Regions from separate parts of the Homo sapiens genome. Here regions 2 and 3 are each linked to region 1. The links are contacts of gene promoters, found by promoter capture Hi-C in blood cells and fetal thymus (Javierre and others, 2016). All regions are on one chromosome and are shown on one strand. Each heading gives the region's core, a stretch centred on a gene start or on the middle of the fragment in contact. The rest is flanking DNA. Distances are from core to core; before and after follow the strand shown. Region 1 holds the start of UBE2F-SCLY (UBE2F-SCLY readthrough (NMD candidate)). Region 2 overlaps UBE2F (ubiquitin conjugating enzyme E2 F (putative)). Region 3 has its middle 46 kb from the start of UBE2F-SCLY.

What was found. Contacts are between HindIII fragments. The CHiCAGO score rates a contact against its expected background, and 5 or more counts as called.
Region 2: a contact is called between a fragment that was not itself captured here and the fragment with the promoter of UBE2F-SCLY in region 1, in 1 of 17 cell types (activated CD4 T cells). The highest score is 5.4, in activated CD4 T cells.
Region 3: a fragment that was not itself captured here is called in contact with the fragment with the promoter of UBE2F-SCLY in region 1 in 2 of 17 cell types (megakaryocytes and non-activated CD4 T cells); the score reaches 10.3 in megakaryocytes.

The regions. Positions count from the first base shown.
Region 1 is chr2:237,964,840-237,969,045 of GRCh38, reverse strand. It overlaps UBE2F-SCLY (UBE2F-SCLY readthrough (NMD candidate)), which reads right to left and starts at 2,101. Exons shown (of 19, transcript NR_037904.1): 1 at 1,914-2,101. It overlaps UBE2F (ubiquitin conjugating enzyme E2 F (putative)), which reads right to left and starts at 2,032. Exons shown (of 10, transcript NM_080678.3): 1 at 1,914-2,032. RefSeq lists a silencer at 1,809-1,988 and a cis regulatory region at 3,505-4,168. The HindIII fragment of the contact is 5,181 bases long and covers 1,079-4,206 here.
Region 2 is chr2:238,026,705-238,030,910 of GRCh38, reverse strand. It overlaps UBE2F (ubiquitin conjugating enzyme E2 F (putative)), which reads right to left. Exons shown (of 10, transcript NM_080678.3): 7 at 298-355. It overlaps UBE2F-SCLY (UBE2F-SCLY readthrough (NMD candidate)), which reads right to left. Exons shown (of 19, transcript NR_037904.1): 5 at 298-355. It also overlaps the pseudogene RNU6-1333P. Among named protein-coding and RNA genes, the nearest start is that of SCLY, 32 kb to the left of the region's middle. RefSeq lists an enhancer at 2,200-2,813. The HindIII fragment of the contact is 889 bases long and covers 2,007-2,895 here.
Region 3 is chr2:237,918,422-237,922,627 of GRCh38, reverse strand. No RefSeq gene overlaps it. Among named protein-coding and RNA genes, the nearest start is that of UBE2F-SCLY, 46 kb to the left of the region's middle. The HindIII fragment of the contact is 7,029 bases long and covers 1-4,206 here.

The DNA.
Region 1 (4,206 bases), core at 852-3,351:
ATCATTTTCACACGCCACTTTAAGAATAAACCCAAGGCCTAATTTGGGAATGTTGCCATAGCTGTAAAATTAAATTTAAACCAAAGGATTCTATCAAAAAGTAAGTCTTCAAACTGTCAAGAGGCTAGCTGAATACCTGCAGTTGCTTCAGAATTCTTTTCCTTCTTCAATATGCTTCAACTCTTGAAGATCTGGTTTAAAACAAAACTTCCTCTTTCCTGCAAATTACGCTCTAAGGCAGCATTTCGGTAACAGATCAGCTGTTCTGAACAGCATTCTCAGTTTCTAAATTCCACAAGTTGTAATTGGCCCAGTTAGGTTCCTCCTCTGGGTGGGACCTGCTTTCAGACAGCCCGGAGAAGAGCATCTGGTGTGCAACTTACTAGTGCCATCAAGTGATATTTACTCAGCATCCCTGCAAGCAATGGCAAAACCAGGCCATGTCACTTGTGCAGGGACACCAGGGGCCAGTCAGCTCAAGGTGAGGGGGCTACTTATTTACAATTCCTTCCGAATGGAGACGTCTCAATCCAAGCATAAAGGATGGGACTGCGGGTCACTAGGGGACACTCAACTTCCCCAGCCAAAGGGGCCCCGATCAGGGCACAACAAAGTCCACATCCCACTCTTCTACAGAATGCCAGTGCCCAGGAACCTCCTGCTCGGCACAGGAGTACGCTGGTTGACCGACCATCTTTGGAGCCCAGCCCCTTTTACGTTCAGCAGTAAACCTGCCCCTTCCTGCACTGCCTACTACCTGAAAGGCAGGTATGTCCAGGTGGGGGGTCCTCAAGCCCCACAGCACTAAGCTTGGTGTGATTCTGTCTCTCAATCTCTCTCTCTCTCCCACCTCTATGCTCCCCCTTGCCTTCATCTCACTCCTCAGCCAGGATTCCTCTGCACCAGGCAGGCCAGTTTCCTCTTTGTTCCTTCACAACACCCTGTTCATTTCCAGAAGCTTCTATTCAGTCTGATACCCAGGTCTAGAATGCCCTCCTTCCCTTCACAAACGAATCCTACCCCTTCCTTAAGGGGAAGATTCCTACCTACATCCCAACATCTCCTCCTCCAAGAAGCTTTCTCTGGCTATTCCAACCCATCCTGCCCCCACTTCCAGGCGGTCGGGAATGCAGAGTGGGGGGACCCAATTCTCTCCTGTGACAGATGAGGAAACTGAGCCCAGGGAGGGGAAGGCCACACCCAAGATGACACACCAGCAGAACTAGGTCTGGAACCAAGACTCTGCTGCACTAATTGTTCCAAGATGCCCTTCCTTCCTCGTCTCCTTTGCTGTGGTAAAAATTTTCCAAACTAGCCTGGCCGCCCCCAGTTGTAGGTAAGCGTCCATACTTACTCTTCCCGCTGCAGGTACGAGGACCGGGCGCGAGTTGTCACTCCCCTCACCTCCCCCGCTCCTCACGGCCTAGCGCGACTCCTGCCCCGATCGGGAGTCCAGTCCCGGTTTCTGCGGCCACGTCGGGCCGGTGACCTTGGCCAGGCGCTGGACGCCCCGCTTCCTCCGTACAAGGCAGGCAGCCGATCCCGCGAGTGGGGCGTGAGCGCGGCCAGGTCTGTGCCACGCTCGGCCCAGGGCCTGGTTCACACCAGGTGCTCGGCGCGGGCCGTCCCCCGCCGCCGCCGCCGCGGTCACTCACTGCCGGGCGAGGCCAGCGCCCCGGCCGCCGACGCCGCCTCCGACCCCCGGCTCGCGGCCCGCGGCCCGCGGCCCCTTCCCATTCACGCCGCTCGGCCTCGCGTCCGGGTGCCCGCGCCCGCCAGGCCCCCGGCGTGAGGAACCCGGCGGGCCCGAGGCGGCCCCGCCACCGCCCGCGCCCTCCGCCCGGCCCGCAGGCCAGCCCGTGCACCGGCGGCCGCACCTCGCCCCGCCGCAGAGCCGCACGGTCGCTCCTCACCTGGGCTCCCCGAGACAGGCGAGGCGGGCCCGGCGCCCAACACCATGCCCGGTCCGGGCGGCTGCTGCGAGACGCGGCCCCTCACAGCCGCACCGGCTCCCGGCGGCGGGACCGGAAGTGGCGGGGCGGGGACTCGGCCGCTCTCGCCCGCGGCAGCCGAGACAGCAGCGGGCGCTTTAAAAAAAAAATTCAAAGTCGCGAAAAACTTTATTTGGAACCAGACACGCGAACAGCGGCGTGCGCCGATCGGGACTGGGCTGGGCGACGGGCCTCTCGGACCTCGCTCATTGGCAGAGGGCGCGGCCAGGGGGCGGGCACGGATTTCGCAACCGCCGCTGATTGGCGAGTAGCGTTAGGGGCGGGGATTCCGAGTTGGCTCTGGAGCCCGAGCGCCGGAGGGCTGGGGGTTTTGCACCTGGTTCCAACACGGGTTCACTTCGTGGTCTGCAGGGTTTAGGGGCACGGAGGAGCCCGGGCTATCCTTCCCTGAAGGAGCGGCCTCCGTGGCTGGAGCTCCCGCTGTCCAGCGCCGCACCTGGAGTGCAAAGGACTGGACAGGCCCCCGCAGCCTGCAGTGCAGGCGGTGAGGGAGACCGGGCGGTCAGACACGCAAGCCACGACCAACCCCAAACCGTGTGCTGCGCCCACAGGCCCCACTGTTCTTGTCATGTCCCTTTTATTCCTTCTTTTCTCTCTTAAATGTGTTTAAAGTACCTTAAAAATCCATTTCAACTTGTCCTCTTTTGGGCGCCCAGATTCATCCCGCGCCCATTAGCGTCCTGTGTGATTGACGAGGGGCCGTCCTGGGCGTCAGGCAGGCCCCTGGAGGAGTGGGCCATTAGAAAGATGAGGTTCAGCATGGAAACGGTCAGAAAGAGACAAGGAGTTAGACTTTCATTTCGAAAAACCCCACTGAGAGGTTTCTAACAGTGGAGTGACTATCAGGTTTTCTTCCTAAAGGAGGCTGGCGGGCCCGGTGGCTCACGCCTGTAATCCTAGCACTTTGGGAGGCCAAAGTGGGAGGATCCCATGAGCCCAAGAGTTTAAGACCAGCCTCCTGATGGTGGCAAGACCCCATCGCTACAAAAAAAGAAAAAAAAAATTAGCCGCGTGGTGGCGCGCGCCTGTAGTCCCAGCTACTCAGGAGGCTGGGATGGGAGGATCACCTGAGCCCAGGAGGTTGAGGCTGCAGTGAGCCGTGATCGCACCACTGCACTCCAGCTTGGGTGACAGGGCAGACCCTGTCCCCATAATAATAATAAAGGCTTTGGCTCTAAGTGAGTCGGTGGGAATGGAGTCAGGAAAACTGGTCAAGAACACAACTCAGCCGGGCGCAGTGGCTCAGGCCTGTAATCCCAGCACTTTGGGAGGCCGAGGCAGACAGATCACCTGAGGTCAGGAGTTCAAGACCAGCCTGGCCAACATGGCAAAACCCCATCTCTACTAAAAATACAAAAAAGCCGGGCGTGGTGGTGCGCCCTTGTAATCCCAGCTATTTGGAACGCTGAGGCAGGAGAATTGCTTGAACCCAGGAGGCGGAGGTTGCAGTGAGCTGACACTGCACTCCAGTCTGGGTGACACAGCAAGACTGTTTCCAGAAAAAAAAGAAAAAAGAAAGAACACAACTTGTGTTATTTCTTGTGTTTGGGACCATGTCTCTCCCTTTTTTGCCCGGCTAACTCTCAAGTTTTCCTAAGCTAAGACACCAACTTCTGATAGGCCTCAAAGCCTGGGGGTGGGGTGGGGCAGTGCAGGTGCCCTCTGTGTCTTCCTTGGAGCCCTGCACTTCCCTCTTCCTTATTGTCATGGCCTGTTTCCCTGACTAAGCTCAGCTCCTCAGCCCTCCTCTTCCTTCTTCCTCCAGCGTCACCTCCTGCCACCCCCTTTCCCATCCTGGAACATGCAGGTGATTAAAACACATCTGCTGGATAGAGATTGCATGCGCTGGCGGCATGAGTCCTGGTGAGAGGAGATAAGGGCTTGAAGATTGCAGTGTGTGAAGGTGCAGCCGGAATGGCGTGAGCACTTGTCTTACTCATAAGCGTCACTGTCTGCAGAATGGATTGCACCACACATTGGCCCACGTAGGCCCAAATTCCACCGCTGTGGATGAATGAAGTCATTTCTAGCTCCATTTCATGAGGCTGCCTAATTCTTTCACTAAGACTTATTTAGGACTTCCTAGTTTATTAACTCAATTAATCCAAACAATAACCCCATGAAACAGGTATTATCCCCATTTTATAGATGAGGAAACTGACACAGAAGTTAAGTAGTCTGTTGGCAAAAAAGG
Region 2 (4,206 bases), core at 1,202-3,701, 62 kb before region 1:
CATGAGGTTTCCTATGTGGCGGGTGGTTTGGCTGTGAAGCCTGCAGTTTGGGCTCCTATCTCTGGTTCTAGAATGGTGCCTGGCAAAGTCAACAAGGATGCTCATCCGGCCCAAACTGACCGAGGTCAGTGACTGGCTAAGTAGCCTAGGCAGCAGGGAGAAGAGGAGGCAGGGTGTGTCCGGCCACTGGTGTGGATGTGACAGGCAAGGACATGTGCTGCTTTCTCGGGAGGCTGGCTACTGCAGGGAGAGGACCACAGGGACAACTTATGATCAAGATCAAGGCACAGACTCTACCTTTAATGTTCTTGTGGGAGCCCAGCCAGTGCCATCAATTGAATGTTCTCTCAATAAACTGAAAAAGACAAACACACAGTGGTTAGTGAGGAGCAGCCACAGGTGCCCTGCACGCTGCCAACTAGTCCTCTCGGTGTGTGCCATGCAGGAGCTCTACTTTTTATTAAACCCATCTTTTCCTCTGTGGCTTCTCAGTTTTCTCTTGCTGAGGAAGGCATTTCCACCTCCAAGGTTATATACATATTCAATTATAACGTCTTGTGTTATGTTTATCTATTTGTTGTAATACTTGACATGGAAGTTTTAGGCTGAGGAAGAGCATGTTTAAAACAACACACAAAGAACATTTGTCAATTTAATATTCAGAAAATGACAATGGTGGCTGGGTATGGTGGCTCATGCCTGTAATCTCAGCATTCTGGGAGGCCGAGGCAAGGTGGGAAGATAGCTTGGGTCCAGGAGTTTGAGACCAGCCTGGGCAACACAGTGATACCCTGTCTCTACTAAAAATTAAAAATTAGCCAGGCATAGTGGTGCACGCCTGTACTCCCAAAGGTGGAGGACTGCTTGAGTCCAGAAGTTCAAGGCTGCAGTGAGCTGTGATGGCGCCCCTGTACTCCAGCCTGGGAATAGTGTGAGGCCCTGTCTCAAAAAAAAAAAAAGAAAGAAAGAAAGAAAATGACAATGGCAACAAAATGACAACATGACAACAGGAGTAACTGAAGCTTAGAGCTTATTATGTGTATGTCAGGCACAATCCTAGGTGCTGTGCCATTAAATTCACTTAATGCCTATAACCACCCGTGAAGAGAGCATCCCTGTTTCCCTGTCTTATACAGGAGGAAACCAAGGCACAGAGAAGACACGCCCAAGGGCACACGCCTCATGAACAATGTTGTTCTTCCAACCCAGGCAGCTCACGGGCACCGACATTCTGAAACACTGCTGATGCAGGTTAACAACAATGGGAGCTCCCAGCATATGACATTTTAATAACTGGGTTTTTTTTTTTTTTTTTGAGACGGAGTCTCTCTCTGTCTCCCAGGCTGGAGTGCAGTGGCACGATCTCGGCTCACTGTAAGCTCCACCTCTCCGGTTTTACGCCATTCTCCTGCCTCAGCCTCCTGAGTAGCTGGGACTACAAGGCATGCACCACCTACGCCCGGCTAATTTTGTTTTTTGAATTTTTAGTAGAGACGGGGTTTCACCGTGTTAACCAGGATGGTCTCGATCTCCTGACCTCGTGATCCGCCCGCCTCGGCCTCCCAAAGTGCTGGGATTACAGGCGTGAGCCACCACGCCCAGCCGTAACTGGGTTTTTTTTTTTATTTTTTTAAAGTTCAAAAGAAAAAGCTTGAGGATAAAAGATTAATGCAAAATTCTGAGTATCAATCACTCCTTAGGTGGGGGGCCCATGCTCAGGGAAGGCACACCAGGATTCAGAGGTCTGATGAAGCCCTGTTTCTGAAGCTGGTACCTGAGAGTCCTGGTCATTACTGTCTATCAGCTGTAAAGGCACACCATATACTCTCATGGAAATGATCATTCCAGTGCTCACTTCCGCAGCACATATGCTCAAATTGGGATGATACAGAGAAGATTAGCATTTTCCCAATAATCTTAAAAAGTAAAAAAAAAATTTTAAATAATTTTAAAAGGATTAAATGATCATTCCATACTTTGAAAAAAGTATAATTTATTGCCAAGCTTCCTTCTGGAGATAAAATTACTTTTGTATTTGTTGAATTATTGTGCTGTGGCTTTGATCTGTAAATAAAATATCAGGCTTTATCCATAATTGTTACCTCTGATAAACTTTTTTGAATTAGAGCATGTTTAAATTCACAAAAGTCAATTCAGATCAGGAGAAAAATATGTAGAGTTTGAATCAAAGCTATAATCTTAATTGTCTGTGAAGAGCAGTTAAAAAAAACAGATAACTAACCTTAAATTGACCATTAAAATTTACTTTTAGCCTTAAAAAGAAAAAAGGAAAACTCAAATCATGTATCCTACCAACTGGGTGGACGTCTTTCTACCCTACAGAGGTATTGGTGACTTGTGGATCTGAATTGTCAACTTCTGAATAACTTTTTTGGGAATGAAGTCAAATCCTAGTGGCTATATTTTGTTGAATGGAGGAATTATTTCTGATCTAGCTAATCATTTTCTTATATAGATCTTAATGCAACCTTCAGTTATATATTTGTCATTTATTTGTTGAATGCCTGTTTCATCCATAAAAGCAGGGAATGCTAATTCCTCTGCCAGTGCCTAAGCTCAATCAACATTAGCTGAATGAAGGAGAAGGAAGCTCACCCTGAGCTTTGCTGTTAACAGCACAGCCAGAGCAGGAGGGCTTTGCATCTGGCTGGGGCAGGTAATGGGGAGGCAAGGCCGGCCCCAGCATGTGGTGGCCACTGGTCTGGGCAGCAGTGAGGCCCATCAGGGGTGCAGTGCCTCCAGTCACTGAGGAAGTTCTAGCCTGGCCTCACAGAGGATAGTCCCAGCAACAGCTCAGGAGACAGAGACACTTGGCTATCAGAGATGTCATTAAGCAAGGAGACAAAGGACACCCCACGAACTGTAATAGAAGCTTGGACTCTAGGAGAAGCTTTGACTGAGCTCTTGACCTAGGCCCTCCAATCCCACAGACATGGAGCCTCTGACCTTGTGCCAGAGCAGGCGAAGGGTCCCTGCCGGGACAACAAGGTGGAGCCAGGGCAAATCTCTCTAAAAGAGGAAGGTGCTCCTGTGTGCCAGCACTGAAAGGCCTGTGGAGCCCCAGGCACCCATCAGTCCTGCTGTGGGAAGGGCTGATGAGCTGCTGTCAGCGTCACCACAAACCAGAGGTGCGGTTGGGCTTTTCCTTCCCTTTATTCGGGACACACCATAAAGCTGCCACTGGACACTGTCTGCTTTTCACTAACAAGGTGGTCCCCGTACATCAATCTGGCACATTATTTCCTTAGATTAAATCCCTAGAAGTGCAGCTGACAAGTCCAAGGGTACATACGAGTTACAGGTAGTCTACGTGGCTGAAGGACCAATGAAAGGTGTGCAAATACACACACCCTCCAACAAGAGAGCCTGCTCGCTCTCTGTCACACACTCCTCCCCCAGCCACCAAGTATCTACCTTTGTGCCTGCCAATCTGGTGAGTGGTAAGCCACACTTCATGGTCTTCTGCGCCTTTCTCTGGTTACTGATGAGAGTGAACATCTCCTCAGATATTTACTGCCCACCTCTATTTCTCCTTTTATGAATCACCTATTTGTAGCCAATGCCACATTTTTCCAGAGAAGTATCCGTCTTTTTTATAATGAATAGTAAGGACTATTTACATACCAAGGATGTTAATCCAGTTGATCATTTCTTCTTCCATTTTGTGTTTTTAATTTTTACATGGTCAAATCTGACAATCTTTTTCCTTAAGACGTCTGGCTTTTATATCAGGATACCATCTGTTCATCCTTATAAGGCTTTGCTAATCATCTGACTTCCCAGAAGACGGCAAAAGGGACAAGAGAGCTTCCTATTCTGGACCCATTTCTGACTAAGGCAGGGACAAGACAGGGAAGTAGAGTATGGCCCCCCAGAAAGTGAGCCAGGTGTCCTCACAAGCACAGGAGGAAGCGGGGCAGTGGGGGCCTGGGCCAAACACATTTATAACCTGCAACCAAAGATAGTGGAATTTTAATGTTTCAATACGTAAAGGACAGATACTTCAAAGGGAAGATGCTTTTTTAAAAAGGTATGTCTGGTAAAATGTATTTTTAACCATCTGTGAAAAACGAGGCTGATATTGAAGAAGGAGCAGTATATACAAAAATGAAATGGGCAAATGGGCACTAACTGTACTTGTGAAGAGAAAGGCATCCGGCCCGGCGCGGTGGCTCACACCTGTAA
Region 3 (4,206 bases), core at 667-3,166, 46 kb after region 1:
CGAACTGGGGGCCCTGGAGTCGGAGAGCTGGCTTCCAATTCCGGCTCTAGTACCCGCGCTCAGGGACACTGGGCATGTGTTGTCACCTGCCTGTGCCTCAATCTCCTTAACTGCAAAATGGACATAACCTCCAGGCTGATGAAGACTAGGAGAGCAGAGGTCAGGGATGGGCCCCTTCATAGGGGCTCAGGGCCTTTCTGTTCCTCCATTGCTTTCTCCGGCCTGGCCCGCTGTGTGAGGCTGGCCGGCAGACATCTGTCTCTCTCTCAATTTTAAAAAATTTTTTTAGTAGGGACAGGATCTCACTGTGTTGCCCAGGCTGATCTCAAACTCCTGGCCTCAGGCGATCTGCCCACTTCGACCTCCCAAAGTGCTGGGATTGCAGGGGTGGCATCTGTTGGCCTCAGGAAGCAGGCCCAGGCTGCACTCCTGCCCTTGTCCCCCACCTTCCCCGGCAGGCTGGTTTGGCGGTCCTGCCCTCTCCACCCCCACTCTCCCCCATGGGGGAACACAGGCATCAGTGGAGAGTTGCCCATTTTTCAGAAGCGGGATGACAAGCCCCTGCTGCCTTTCACCAATGCCCGTGAATGCACCTGCTTGGGAATCCTCTTTGGAATCTCCCTGAGGTCTTCTGCCCCTCCCCGTGTCTCCCTCATTAAACCACATTTTCCCACAATGAGAACGTGCCATGATGTGCGTTGATGCAAAGCAGGTCTTTATTCAATCTTGTGATGTTTCCGTAGCCAATGCCTTACTGCAGTGCCGTTTTCCATGACTTTTCACGTGAATTACAACACTTTAATTCCATTCCAGCTTAAATTGGCTGTGTTGGGTCAGGTAGAAAAGCCCACTGCCCTGGGTGACACTTTTATGGTTGGGGAAGTGGCTCTTGTCCTGGCTGAGTTGTGTCCTTGCCTCAGAATGTGACTTCACATCTTGAAGTCCTAACCAGCAGTACCTCAGAATGTGACTGGGTTTGGACCCAGGGTCTTTACAGAGGTGACTAAGGTTAAATGAGGTCACTGGGTGGGCCCTAACCCAATGTGACTGTGCCCTTATAAGAAGAGAAGATTAGGGCCAGGTGCAGTGGCTCATGCCTGTAATCCCAGCACTTTGGGAGGCCAATATGGGTGGATCACCTGAGGTCAAGGGTTCAAGACCAGCCTGGCCAACATGGTGAAACCCCATCTCTATTAAAAATACAAAAATTAGTCAAGCGTGGTGGCACACACCTGTAATCCCAGCTACTTGGGAGGCTGAGGTGGGAGAATTGCTTGAACCCGGGAGGTGGGGGCTGCAGCGAGCGGAGATTGCGCCACTGCACTCCAGCCTAGGTGACTGGGCGAGACCCTGTCTCAAAAGAAAAAAAAAAGATTAGGATGCAGGCACAGAAAGACGACCATATGAGGCAGGGAGGAAATGACAAGCCAAGAAGAGAGGCATCAGAAGGAACCAACCCTGCCGACCCCTTGATCTCAGGCTTCCAGCCTCCACAGCTGCGAGAAACGCACTTCTGTTGTTTAAGTCCCCAGCCTGTTATAGCAGCAGCTTGGGCAGACTCCGACTGCACTGCTTTATCCTCAGCCGAGCCCGAGGAGGAGGAGACAATCCCCAAACTCGATCGTTTCCTATCATTATGATCACCGATTATTCTCCTTTTGACTCACCCGACCTTCTGTGCAGAAGGGCTGGGAACACTGAGAGACGGGAGCATTTACCCACATGTGTTCACGTGCACGTGCAGCCACAGCTCCCAGCCCTGCTGTGAAAGTGAATCACTATGGCCCCGGTTAGCAGCGTTTGCCATGTGCCTGCCACATGGCCAAGGGCTGTCTTCACTGTGAGTCCCTGAAGTGTCCATGGCCAGCACTCTGCAGGCGATGACACTGAAGCCCAGAGGGTTGAGGAGCTTGCCTCGCCTTTCTTCCTTCCTTTCTTTTTTTTTTTTTTTGACATGGGGTCTTATTCTGTCACCCAGGCTGGAGTGCAGTGGTGTGATCATGGCTTACTGCCTCCCCAGCCCAAGCGATCCTCCCCCACAGCCTCCTGAGTAGCTGGGACTACAGGCACATGCCACCACACCCAGCTAATTTTTTAAATTTTTTTGTAGAGATGAGGTCTCACTATGTTGCCTAGGCTGGTCTCAAACTCCTGGGCTCAAGTGATCCTCCAGCCTCAGCCTCAGCCTCCCAAAGTGCTGGGATGACAGGCGTGAGCCACTGTGCCCAGCCTGCCTCACCATTTTTAATCGGCACAGCCAGGATTTGGTTTCAACTAAGGCAGCTTGGTGCCATCACTTCTATGCTACAACTTTTAAAAATATTGTTTTTTAAAACATTTTATTTACATTATATACTTTCACACCTATGACCATCTGAAACTTTTTTTTTGAGATGGGGTCTTGCTCCGTCACCCACACTGGAGTGCGGTGGCATGATTTTGGCTTGCTGCAGCCTCCCACCTCCAGGCTTAAGTGATCCTCCCACCTCAGCCTCCAGAGTAGCTGGGACCACAGGTGTGCGCCACCATACCTGGTTAAGTTTTTGTATTTTTGGTAGAGATGGGGTTTCGTCGTGTTGCCCAGCCTGGTCTCGAACTCCTGAGCTCAAGCAATCTGCTCTCCTCAGCCTCCCAAAGTACTGGGATTACAAGTGGGAGCCATTGCACCCGGCCTGACCATTTGAAACATTTTAAAGGTGGCACTGCTTCTTGTAAGAAGAGATCTTAGGTGGCAGGGGCAGGGCTGGGATGTAGGTGCTCTCATGGCAGGATGCACTGGGGATGGAAAGCAGCTGCCACCTGTCATGGACATGCACCTCCAGTCACCCCTGTCTGCCTCCCGCCCTGCCCCCAGAAAACAGGAAGCAAACTTCCCCGGCCTCCTGTCAGAGTGTCTGTGGGGAAGCGATTCACGTGGGGGCATGAGCACTGTCCCCAGGCCCAAGGATTGTGGCTGGGGTGGGGCAGAGAGGGATGCTTTGGAGGGCTGCTCTCTTCCCGCTGTTCCTCTGCACCCCCTTCACATTTTTGTAACCCAAATAAAGATGGGCACCCATGGTCCACCTCCGCACAGGCCCAGGAAGAAAAAAAACAAAGTCAGATCCAAGTTCACTTCCTAAAATAGCCTTGAAAAGCAATTTAGGTCCTTCTTAAATTTGTTCTAGGGGGAACCAAAGTGCAATTATGTTCACAATCTAGAGAAAAATGTCTTGAAACCTCTTTCCTCTCCCGTTCTCAAGGCTCCCAGCCTACATCTGCTCTCTTCTTGCCCATTCTCATCCCTGTCCCCAAAAAATACGGGTCCTCTGGCAGGTGGCCTGCTCTTTGGAGCTCAAACACCATCCTTGGAATAGGGCATGTGACCAATGCTAAGTCATCTTTTCCATGCACACAAAATTATCAGAAAGATGAAAAGTTTGCTCAAAGTCACTCAGCTAAAAAGGGGTCCAGTCAAGATCAGAACCTGCTGGGCATCGTGGCTCATGTCTGTAATCTCAGCACTGTGGGAGGGCGAGGTGGGTGGACCACTTGTCAGGAGTTCAAGACCAGCCTGGCCAACATGGTGAAACCCCGTCTCTACTAAAAATGTAAAAATTAGCCAGGTATGGTAGTGGGCGCCTGTGATCCCAGCTACTTGGGAGGCTGAGGTAGGAGAATTGCTTGAACCTGGGAGGTGGAGGTTGCAGCGAGCGGAGATCGCACCACTGCACTCCAGCCTGGGAGACAGAGCGAGACTCCGTCTAAAAAAAAAAAAAAAAAAAAAAAAAAGACTCAGAACCTGCCAAGGCTGATCTAATGCCAGGGAGTGACAGCCCAGTAATTGGGATGTGGCACCTAGATCCAGACCATAGCCTGTTGTGTTGTTATCGTTTCTGCTAGTTGTATTATGTGCTCTCCCCCTACTTGGATATGGCCTGGGGAATGTGTTCACACACACACCAAAATTGAGATCAGTTCACTCTCCTTTTTCATAATCTGCCTTTTCCAATTAACTCTACACTATGAAAAAAAATTCCCATGTACTTAATTTAAGAACTTGTTTTTCCCAGCCAGGCATGGTGGATGGCTCACGCCTGTAATCCCAGCACTTTGGGAGGCCAAGGTGGGTGGATCACTTGTGGTCAGGAGTTCGAGACCAGCCTGGCCAACATGGGGAAACCCTGTCTCTACTAAAAATACAAAAATATAGCCAGGCATGGTGGTGCA